Linked DNA regions of Homo sapiens: all the other regions are linked to region 1. Evidence: promoter capture Hi-C in 16 types of primary human blood cells and fetal thymus (Javierre and others, 2016). All regions are on one chromosome and are shown on one strand. The core of a region is centred on a gene start or on the middle of the fragment in contact, and the rest is flanking DNA. Distances in the headings are between cores, read along the strand shown. Region 1 holds the start of CENPH (centromere protein H). Region 2 holds the start of SREK1IP1 (SREK1 interacting protein 1). Region 3 overlaps PPWD1 (peptidylprolyl isomerase domain and WD repeat containing 1).

Region 1 (3,486 bases), core at 395-2,894:
GGTCTCACTATGCTGCCCAGGCTGTTCTCCTGACTTCAAGCGATCCTTCCGCTTTGGCTTCCCAAAGTGCTGGGATTACAGGCGTGGGCCATCGCCACCAGTCCATTCTGTGTCTTTTGAACTGTTTTTTTGTTTGTTTGTTTGTTTTTCGAGAAGGAATCTTGCTCTGTTGCCCAGGCTGGCGTGCATCTCTGGTGTGATCTCGGCTCACTGCAACCTCTGCTTCCCGGGATCAAAGGATTCTCCTGCCTCGGCCTCCCCAGTAGCTGGGATTACAGGTGCCCACCACCACGCCTGGCTAATTTTGTATTTTTAGTAGAGACGAGGTTTCTCCATGTTGGTCAGGCTGGTCTCCAACTCCTGACCTCGAGATCCTCCCCCCTCGGCTTCCCAAAGTGCTGGGATTATAGGTGTGAGCCACAGCGCCCGGCTTTTTTTTTTTTTTTTGAGACGGAGTTTCACTCTGTCACCCAGGCTGAAGTGCAGTGGCGCGATCTCAGCTCACTGCAACCTCCGCCCCCCCGGGTTCAAACGATTCTCCTGCCTCAGCCTCCTGAGTAGCTGGGATTACAGGCGCCCGCCACCACACGCAGCTAACTTTTGTATTTTTAGTAGAGACGGGGTTTCACCATGTTGGCCAGGCTGGTCTTGAATTCCTGACTTCAGGTGATCCACCCGCCTCAGCCCCCAAAGTGCTGGGAGTACAGGGGTGAGCCACCACGCCCAGCGAATTTAACTTTTGTCAGGAGCCGTATTACATTGACAATGGAGAGGAAGAAAACAGCACAGTATGATCAAGTTTAACTAGTGGGTAATTAGCTGTAAAAGAACTCTCGACTCTTGTTCAAAGAGGTTCAAGCTGCTGTGCTTGTGCGGCAAGGACAGTGTCCAAATGAAAAACTACAAATCAGTCATCTGTCCTTCATTTTCTCCATTCCCCCCACTCACTACACAGCTAAGAAAGCTCAAAGGTACCCTGCAGACACTCAAAACTTGAGGGCACGCAACTCTCAGTTACGAGTGGTGGCAATCATAATGACAGAATGAAGTACCAGTGCAAGAAACTGGAAGCGTGTGGATGTCTCCAGGCTGGAAGTCTGGGTTCGAAATGTCTGCAATGCCTCGCACTTGTGGCCCGTCCCTGATCTTCAGAAGCCACTGGTTTCTCCGCCAAACAAAGGGTATGCACCTCATGGGCTCAGGTCAAAAAAGTCTTCTAAACAACCCTCTAATGTTTATCTTTCACAGCCTGCCGGGCACACCCATCTTCAAAGGCAGAGGACGGAAAAGTGCCAAGATGGATGGACATATGGCTGTCGCCGCACTCCCGTGTCCAAGCGCCAAGGCCGAATGACCACTTAGGTCAGGAGATTTTTCCCCTCCAGGCTGCTGTTCCCGGGAGATGTCCCAACGTCTCTAGTCCAGCCCCTAACTCAGCACTCTACACATCCGACGCTTAACGAAAGCTATTCCAACTTTTTACCAGCCGTCTGCAGTTATTTTCACCAGTAGAGCCCGGATGAAAGAGGAGCCCGTAGTAACCACGGCAACCGAAAAACAAGGCGGAAAGGGTGGGGCCCTGGGCGGAAGGGGCGGGGCCCTCGGGCCTTTTCCCGGCGTCCATTTAGTGGCGGGAAAAGCGACCTTTTCTGAGCGCGTTTGCCTGTTGAGTGGTAGCCTTTCCCCTCAACCAGCAATGGAGGAGCAGCCCCAGATGCAAGACGCCGACGAGCCCGCGGACTCCGGAGGGGAAGGCCGGGCAGGCGGGCCACCGCAGGTCGCCGGCGCCCAGGCGGCGTGCAGCGAGGACCGCATGACCCTGCTCCTCAGGTTGTTCCCTTTGGCCTCCTCAGCCGGGGCCAAGTGGGCGTTGTGGCCCGGAACTCCGCCCTTGCTCAGAAGGGCTAGGGTTCGAATTCACGCTCGGTCACGTCAGGTCTCCGTGATTGCCTCATTCACTTAAACTGTTGAAGCTCTTTCTTCATCAGCGAAAAGGAGAGAAAAATGACCCCCTGGAGAGAGGTTACAAGGGTTAAATGAGATAGTCTAGGAAAGTGTTGAGCACAGTGCCCCGGGCCCTTAGAAGCTGTAATTTCTCCTCCTGTTTCCCCGCCCTCCCCCTACCTCTCTGGTTTACAGACAAATTGAATGCCAGAGCTAAACTGGAAGGAAGGTGCCCCTACCATTTCTTTTAGAACTACGACCCTTTGTAACCCAGAAGCTTTATATGTTATAAATTCTACTAAGCGGACGGTGTTTATACTTTTCCACTAAGCGGTTGCTGGGGAAGATTCGATGAGAAGGGACATTCGTCTTCTAAACTAGTGAGCAGGAGAAGGTCCTGGGCCAAATCTGCCTAACTGCCTATTTTTGTGTGACCACTCAAGCTAAGAATAGTTTTTATGTTTAAGTGTTGCAGGGAAAAGATCATAAAAATATTTCATAACACGTGAACTCTATTAGAAATTCAAGTTTCAGTTTCCATAAACAGTTTTATTGGAGTACAACTTTCCTGCCACAAGGGTGGAATTGAGTAGCTAAAACAGAGACCGTGTGACTCACAAACCCTAAAAAATTTACTATCAGGTCCTTTACAGAAAAAAATTTGCGGTCCTCTGTTCTATATCATAACAGAGGTAGTTTTAAAAAAATCATTATTGGCTGAGCGCGGTGGCTCACGCCTGTAATCCCAACACTTTGGGATGCCGAGGCAGACGGATCACCTTAAGTCAGGAGTTCAAGACCAGCCTGGCCAACCATGGCCAACATGGTGAAACCCCGTCTCTACTAAAAATACAAAAATTAGCTGGGCGTGGTGGCGGGCGCCTGTAATCCCAGCTACTCAGGAGGCTGAGGCAAGAGAATTGATTGAACCCGGGAGGCAGAGGTTGCAGTGAGCAGAAGATTGTGCCATTGCACTCCAGCCTGGGCAATAGAGCAAGACTCTTGACTCAAAAAAAAAAAATTAATTACCATTTTTTTCTTTCTTAAATGTTTTGAAAAATGAAAAGATGTCTATTTCTTTTTTATTGTTTTTTCCTCCTCACCCTTGCTGTCATCTTAAATTACCATTTGCTCATAGTTTTTCTACTTATGTATGATTTTTGGATTTATAGAACAACTGAAAAACTATATGAATTAGTAATCCAAGGATTAGTATCTTTGTTATTTTTCTGTATCTCCTGATAAAAATCTGTGTTTGTAAATACAGTGGTTTGGGGTTTAATCATTTTGGTCTATTCTTTGTATAGCATCCTCAGTTCAGTCTGGCCTATTAAAAATAATCTTAAGCGGCCGGGTGCGGTGGCTCACGCCTGTAATCCCAGCACTTTGGGAGGCCGAGGCGGGTGGATCACGAGGTCAGGAGATCAAGACCATCCTGGCTAACACGGTGAAACCCCATCTCTACTAAAAATACAAAAAATTAGCCGGGCATGGTGGCAGGCGCCTGTAGTCCCAGCTGCTTGGGAGCCTGAGGCAGGAGAA
Region 2 (3,486 bases), core at 493-2,992, 4.4 Mb before region 1:
ACTTACCTCCCATTTGTATTTGAGTTCTATCCACAGAAAACATCTTTCATTCTGACATATTTGACACATAAATATTAGTCAATATTAGCTACAGCTACTACCTCTGTACTTAATTTCTCACTTATCTCCCATCTGTATTTGAGTTCCATCCATAGAAAACATCTTTCATTTCCTCTTTTCACATATTTCCTCTTCCTTTACGTATCCAGTTCCTCCGACTGCAGTCTCCTCTCCCTTCAAGCCACCCCTCCTACAATTCAGATCTCCTCCTAAGTGCTACCTCCTTTGGAAAGTCCTTCTGCCCATCCTGTATGTGTTTGGTGCCCTTACTTTGTGCTAAGGTCTTGTATTTTCCTTGCCATGGCACTTGTCCCACTTTCTGTAAATTTCTCTCTCTTCACTGCTAAATTCTAAGTTCTGTGTGAAGCGTAACCATGTCTACCTTGCTCACCACTGTATTTCCAATGCCCAGTACCAGTGCCTGGCACACAGTAGGCTTAATAAAGAGTGTACATTTCCTCTCTCACAGCTCCAGATGTACTCCTCCGCAAACTTCAGTTAGTACAAAAGCACAGTGTTCCAATAACAGCTATCTGTAGAAGGAGGTTCAAAAAGGCTGCCACAGAATAAAGAACCTGGTCAAATAATACTGGGAAGTGCAGGTTTAAACAAAGTTAGGGTTCTGAACCATAGTAATTCTATAGTTCATAGTAATTCTATAGCAATTCATAGTATTCTATTCTAATAGAATAGAATCTTTTCTATTACTAAAGTGCGCTGGGAATTTCCAAGTTGGGAGGTGGGGTGGAGAAGTGTGTATTTCTGAAAATGTCTCCTGCAATCAGTGTTCTGCAGTGGCAAAGCTGGTTTGAGGAGATGCTTTCCGCTACTAGAACTTCCAAGTAAGCTGGTAGTTGAGGACGAGAAAATCTTTTAAGTAATTATTCTGCAGAGTTCACCGTTTTTAGGTCAGTAACTTCTGGACATAGAATTTGAGAGTTAGAAGAAATCTTATATATAATTCAACAAAGCTCCTTCTTTTTATAAGGAAACTGAGGCCCAGAAGCACAAAGCGACCAATCTATGGCCACGGAGCAGCTACATACAACAGGAAGAGCTAGGAGTAGAACCCGCACACCCGGTGGGTCCTAGCGACTTCTAAGACAAACGATGCCTCCGGTTACCTGGGTCGGCCAAGTGTTCCCACTTCAAGTTTTAGTTTTAAGCCATACCACAGTTAAGGTAGTTTTTCTCGGCCGCTTGCCCCCTTAGGCCTACAGTTACAGTCTCTCCCTCCTCCCTCCCTTCCACAATACACTTTCCCTGTAATCCCAAGCAGCTGGGGCTTGGCTCCTGGGGGGAAGATAGTTATTTTCTTTCCTTCAGAGTTTATGTTTGGAGTGTAAACTTTTTCATGTAAACAAAACAAACCTGTGAATTTTAAGGCCTCCGCCTAAATCCCCATGGGCGCTGCTCCGTACACGCCGCACCCTACCCTACCCTCCCTTGCGCTCCCTTCGGAGCTCGGACGCAGAGGCCCTGTAATTGCTCCTTACCTGGGACTGCCATGACGGTGGTAAGAGGGGTAACTCGAGCCTCTGGCTTTCGAAAAGGCGCTTGCTTCCCGCCAGCTGTGAGAACAAGGCACAGTCAAAGCGGCGTTTTCCTTCCCCCAGCGCAGCAGCACCCTCGCTACGGTCGGGAAGGGCCTGTACGCCTCTAGCGACGGCAGAACCAGTAGATGCGGATGCAGTTTCCGGACGAGTCATATTGCAGAAGACACATGGTCCGAACCATTACTGATAGTTTTGGAGGGGGAGTTAGTTTGATCTGCACACGAGAGTAGTGTAAACACCGCCAACACTTATGAAGTGTCCCTTCTAATATTGTAATACAAATAACATAAATAACATTAAGCTATGGTAACTTTACGGACTTTTCTCGTTCCCTGGAGTACATTGGAATAACCCTTCTCAGGGTTAGCGGTGCTCGGGTCCGGTAACAACATGGCGGCGTCCGTGAGGGGCTCCTTTGGGCAGGGGTAGTGTTTGGTGTCCCTGTCTTGCGTGATATTGACAAACTGAAGCTTTCCTGCACCACTGGACTTAAGGAAGAGTGTACTCGTAGGCGGACAGCTTTAGTGGCCGGCCGGCCGCTCTCATCCCCCGTAAGGAGCAGAGTCCTTTGTACTGACCAAGATGAGCAACATCTACATCCAGGAGCCTCCCACGAATGGGAAGGTGAGAGCCTCATCTAGGGAACTTGGGGTCCTGGGATCCCCAAAGTGAGATTTCCCGGATTTGGGGTGGGGAGTGGGTTTCAGGATCTCGTGGTAGGAAGAGACCACGAGAAGTGTTGTCTTTACTCCTGCATGTGGACAATGTTGCATCGAAACACTGATGTTGGTACTTTTCAGGATGTACTTGAAGAAGTCAAGTGGAGATTTCTCTACCTACCAGCATTCCGGTCCTATTTAATGCTTTAACCCAACTCATGCAGCCGATTTCTGGGGTCTTAGGTTTTTAAACAGACATTTTTGAGTTTGATATATTCTTTGCTTAACTAAGGTCATTCATTCTCCATTTCTTCTACAATCATTAATTGAACGCCTGCGAGGCACTGGGCACTGTACTAGGCGCCGGAGATACAAAGATGGATGGGTAAGGTAGTTGTTTTCCCGGAAAAGCTTATAGTTTAGTTTGTGAGACAGACAGGTAAACAAAAGCCTGTATGTCTGATAAGCGTGCTTGTGGAGAAGAGACCAGGTTGCTATGGCGGTACTGAGTAGTGAACAACTGGGGAAGTTAGGAAAAGCCTCATGGAAAAGATATCTTTTGAGCTGGTTTTAAAACCTGAGATGACTGTCAGTCAGAGAAAGTGGGAAATGGGGACTATTACCACATTAGAATGGGGAAAGGTTTCTCTGATTGATTTGATGGCTAATGTATGCCAATTCCCATCCAAGATGTTTGTATGCTGTACAAGGCAGAAGAGTCTGTTGTGGAATAAGTGTCACCTGAATTCTTAAATTGAGACCTAGCTTATATCACATATGAAATTTGATGAATCAGCATATTGGAGAAAATGAGATTGGAAGTATATAGTTGAATTAAGATAAGCTAAATTTACACAACATACCATCCTGTTTGTTACATGATTGCATCATAAATAATTTATACAGTCTTTTATTCATTGACATTTGATAATGTAATGAGAGCAATTTAAAAGTGAAACCAAAAATGCTGTAATTCCCAGCAAAAATGTAATGGATATTTTATGGGCAGACCAATTCTTTCAATTCTTTGTTTGAACTTCTCCTGGGCATTGTAGATTAGTATGTCCATCCCACCCCTCACCTATCTTATTTAATATCAATGTGAAAACCCAAAATACCTACCTCCTCCTATTTCCAAATGTTTCTTGAGGGCAATATCACCCCCAGTTAATAAACACTGGTAGAGATTGAATAGATTTACCATCCTGCCA
Region 3 (3,486 bases), core at 265-2,764, 3.6 Mb before region 1:
TTAAATTCTCATTGCATATATAGATAGATGGGTTGATATAGATATAGGTATATGTATATAGAGTTTTTGTTACTAAATGGTTTATTTCCTAGATGTTTACTGAACTGCAACAGATGAGGCAACAGTTACCAGACATGGAATTTGGCCGACGAATGGCTGTAGAACGTGAGTTGGAGAAGGTTGATGCTGTAAGATTAATTAATATAGTTTTTGATGAAACTGGACACTTCGTGCTGTATGGAACAATGCTGGGCATTAAAGTTATAAATGTAGAGACAAACCGGTAAGCTTTAATATGAGGTATGTTTTTTAAAAATGTGTTTGTGGGGGACCATTTCCTCCATCATGGGAACAGTGGGAGTATTGTTTGTTCCAAGAAAAGTGGAATGGCCCCAAATGTCTAAACTTAACCAAATGTTTTGACTGGATTTTTCTGTGGTCTCTTGGTTGTTTATAATCTTATGTAGAAAGTTTCCACTCATGTTTGTAAAAGAAATGGAAAGAAGATATGCATAGTTTCAAGTTGTTGTGTGTTTTTTTTAACAAGTTTGTCTGTCTTTTGCTTATTGATTTAAATTAGCCTGGTTCATGTTAAATGTTGCCAAAGATTTTAACCACAGAATTCAGCATTACTTCCTGCTAGACATAAAATCAAAAGTTAAAATGCATGAAACCACAGTAAGCCTTTTTTGTGAAAACAGTCCATTTGGTCTTAGTACAAAATAGCTACAATCAGATACTCTCACTGAATGTAAATGAACAGAACTTAATATTTTAAGGAGAAAAAAATGTCCTGTACATTTCCATGTATAAACATATTTATATTGTAGTTCTTGGCAATACAAAATCTTTGAAGTTTTGCAGAACAGTTAACAGACATGGAATTTTAATAAGAATAGGTTAAAACTGTATAAACAAATGATTGATTGTTTTTAATAGACCTTACTTTTTTGAACAGTTTTAGGTTCACAGCAAAATTAAGAGGAAGATACAGAGATTTTCCATATACCCTCTGCCCCAACACATGCATAGCCTCCCCATTATCAACGTCCCCCACCAGAGTGGTCCATTTGTTCCATTGATGAACCTACATTGACACCCAGAGTCCATAGTTTACATTAGGGTTCACCCTTGGTGTTGTATATTCTATAGGTTTGGAGAAATGTATAATGGCATGTATCCACCATCATATTATCATATAGAGTAGTTTTACTGCCTTCAAAATCCTCTGCTCTGACTGTTCAACCACTGATCTTTTCACCATCTCCATAGTTTTGCCTCTTCCAGAATGTGATATAGCTAAAATCATACAGTATGTAGTCTGTCCAGATTGGCTCCTTTCGGTAATATGCATTTAAGTTTCCTCCATGCCTCACCACAGCTTGATAGCTCATTTCTTTTTAGCACTGAATAATACTCCATTGTCTGGATGTACCACAGTTGATCCATTCACGTACTGAAAGACATCTTGGTTGCTTCCAAGTTTTGGCAGTTATGTATAAAAGCTGCTATAATCATCTGTGTACAGGTGTTTGTGTAGTCATTTCAGCTCCTTTTGGTAAATACCAAGGAGCACAATTGCTGGATCATATGGTAACAGAATGTTTAGTTTTGTAACAGCCAAACTGCCTTTCGAAGTGGCTATACTCTTTTTGCATTCCCACCAGCAATGAATGAGTGTTCCTGTCACTCCACATCTGTGCCACCATTTGGTATTGTCAGTGTTCCAGATTTGGGCCATTTTAATAGATGTGTAATGGTATCTTGTTTTAGTGTGGATTTCCCTGGCAACATATGAGGTGGAGTATCTTTTCATATGCTATTTACCATTTGTATATCTCTTTGATGAAGTATATGTGAAGGTCCTTGGGACATTTTTTAATTGGGTTGTGTTCTTATTGTTGTGTTTTAAGAGTTCTTTATATATATGTATATACATATATATATACATATATATATACACACATATATGTGTATATATATATACATATATATGTGTATATATATATACATATATATGTGTATATATATACTTTTTTTTAAAAAAAGAGTTTTTTATATATTTTGGATAACAGTCCTTTATGAGCCGTTCTCCTAGTCTGTGACTTTTCATTCTCTTGATTGGTTTTTTGTTGTTGTTGTTTTTTATTGAGATGGAGTCTTGTTCTGTCACCCAGGCTGGAGAGCAGTGGCACGATCTCGGCTCACAACCTCTGCCTCCTGAGTTCAAGTGATTCTTGTGTCTCAGCCTCCCTAGTAGTTGGGATTACAGGTGCCTGCCACCATGCTTGACCAATTTCTTGTATTTTTAATGGCGATGGGGTTTCACCACGTTGGCCAGGCTGGTCTCGAACTCCTGACCTCAAGTGATCTGCCTGCCTCGGCCTCCCAAAGTGCTGGGATTACAGGTGTGAGCCACCGTGCCTGGCCTCATTTCTGTTTTTTAACCTGAAAATTATAGCTGCCTACCAGTTTAAATTGATACCTTTTGGGGGGTAGAGAAACACTTTTAAAAATCTTTCACTAGTTATTTTGTACATAGATAAGATAGTTGATTCCCAGCTTTTATCTGTAAAGTTGTCATAATTGGAATTAACTTCGGTGATTCTGTTGTATAAAACATTGTTATATTTTTAGGTGTGTGCGGATTTTAGGCAAACAAGAAAATATTAGAGTGATGCAATTGGCTTTGTTCCAGGGGATAGCCAAAAAGCATCGTGCTGCAACTACTATAGAAATGAAAGCTTCTGAAAATCCTGTTCTTCAGAATATTCAAGCTGACCCAACAATAGTCTGTACATCATTCAAAAAGAATAGATTTTATATGGTATGTGTAAGTACTAGGAGATTAGACGGTAATGTTCCTTCCAGTTTGGTTTGACTTTTCTTTGTTTGTACCTTCAACTGAAGAGAATGTTGGCACTAATAGCAGACTTCCTAAACAACCAGAATACCATCTTACATTAATATTGTAGAATTTTAAAGTAGAAGTTGATTTTAAGTATTTCTGTACTGTTTTCCATCATGTTTTGAAATTTTTCAACCTCGTTTCCACAACTATTTGTGTTGTTTTAGATAGTAGGAAGTTAGTGGTTATAGTCATAATTACATCCAAAATAGTTTCACTGTGGGATTTTAAAAGTGTTTTTATTTTTTCAGCCTTTACTCTTGAATATAATTTATCTTCCCCAAATTAGCACAGCTTCCTTCTCTAAATGCATTTCCTTTTTTACCTTTTGACTTTTATTTTAATGGTGCTACCTTGGAATTATATATTCCTGTGGAATTTTTTTTTTCTCTTCTGGAGAACTAAAAGTACTTTGCATGTTAACTAAGACTGAGATAGTTAAAATCAAACTACCGTGCCATGAAGGAGTAGCACAATTTTATTTGTTCATCCAAGCAGGAAAATCAAAAGTATAGAGACCTATGCCCTTGCATTCTATCCTTCACAATGGAATCAGAGAACTTTTTAAGACCCAAACG

The links. Contacts are between HindIII fragments. The CHiCAGO score rates a contact against its expected background, and 5 or more counts as called.
Region 2: the fragment with the promoter of SREK1IP1 here is called in contact with the fragment with the promoter of CENPH in region 1 in 1 of 17 cell types (monocytes); the score reaches 5.4 in monocytes.
Region 3: a contact is called between a fragment that was not itself captured here and the fragment with the promoter of CENPH in region 1, in 2 of 17 cell types (monocytes and neutrophils). The highest score is 8.4, in monocytes.

The regions. Positions count from the first base shown.
Region 1 is chr5:69,187,939-69,191,424 of GRCh38, forward strand. It overlaps CENPH (centromere protein H), which reads left to right and starts at 1,645. Exons shown (of 9, transcript NM_022909.4): 1 at 1,645-1,830. The coding sequence starts at 1,697. LOC112267932 (a long non-coding RNA gene) reads right to left here and starts at 1,539. Exons shown (of 2, transcript XR_002956215.2): 1 at 1,053-1,539. RefSeq lists enhancers at 1,257-1,496, 1,424-1,718 and a silencer at 1,577-1,696. The HindIII fragment of the contact is 12,435 bases long and covers 1-2,219 here.
Region 2 is chr5:64,766,949-64,770,434 of GRCh38, forward strand. It overlaps SREK1IP1 (SREK1 interacting protein 1), which reads right to left and starts at 1,743. Exons shown (of 5, transcript NM_173829.4): 1 at 1,557-1,743. The coding sequence starts at 1,569. It overlaps CWC27 (CWC27 spliceosome associated cyclophilin), which reads left to right and starts at 1,982. Exons shown (of 14, transcript NM_005869.4): 1 at 1,982-2,240. The coding sequence starts at 2,199. It overlaps LOC124900985 (a long non-coding RNA gene), which reads right to left and starts at 1,548. Exons shown (of 4, transcript XR_007058787.1): 1 at 7-1,548. RefSeq lists enhancers at 1,027-1,753, 1,125-2,324, 1,476-1,565, 1,716-2,035, 1,754-2,478 and a silencer at 1,494-1,788. The HindIII fragment of the contact is 4,415 bases long and covers 1-2,084 here.
Region 3 is chr5:65,576,787-65,580,272 of GRCh38, forward strand. PPWD1 (peptidylprolyl isomerase domain and WD repeat containing 1) reads left to right here. Exons shown (of 11, transcript NM_015342.4): 6 at 93-283; 7 at 2,638-2,827. Among named protein-coding and RNA genes, the nearest start is that of PPWD1, 15 kb to the left of the region's middle. The HindIII fragment of the contact is 2,456 bases long and covers 287-2,742 here.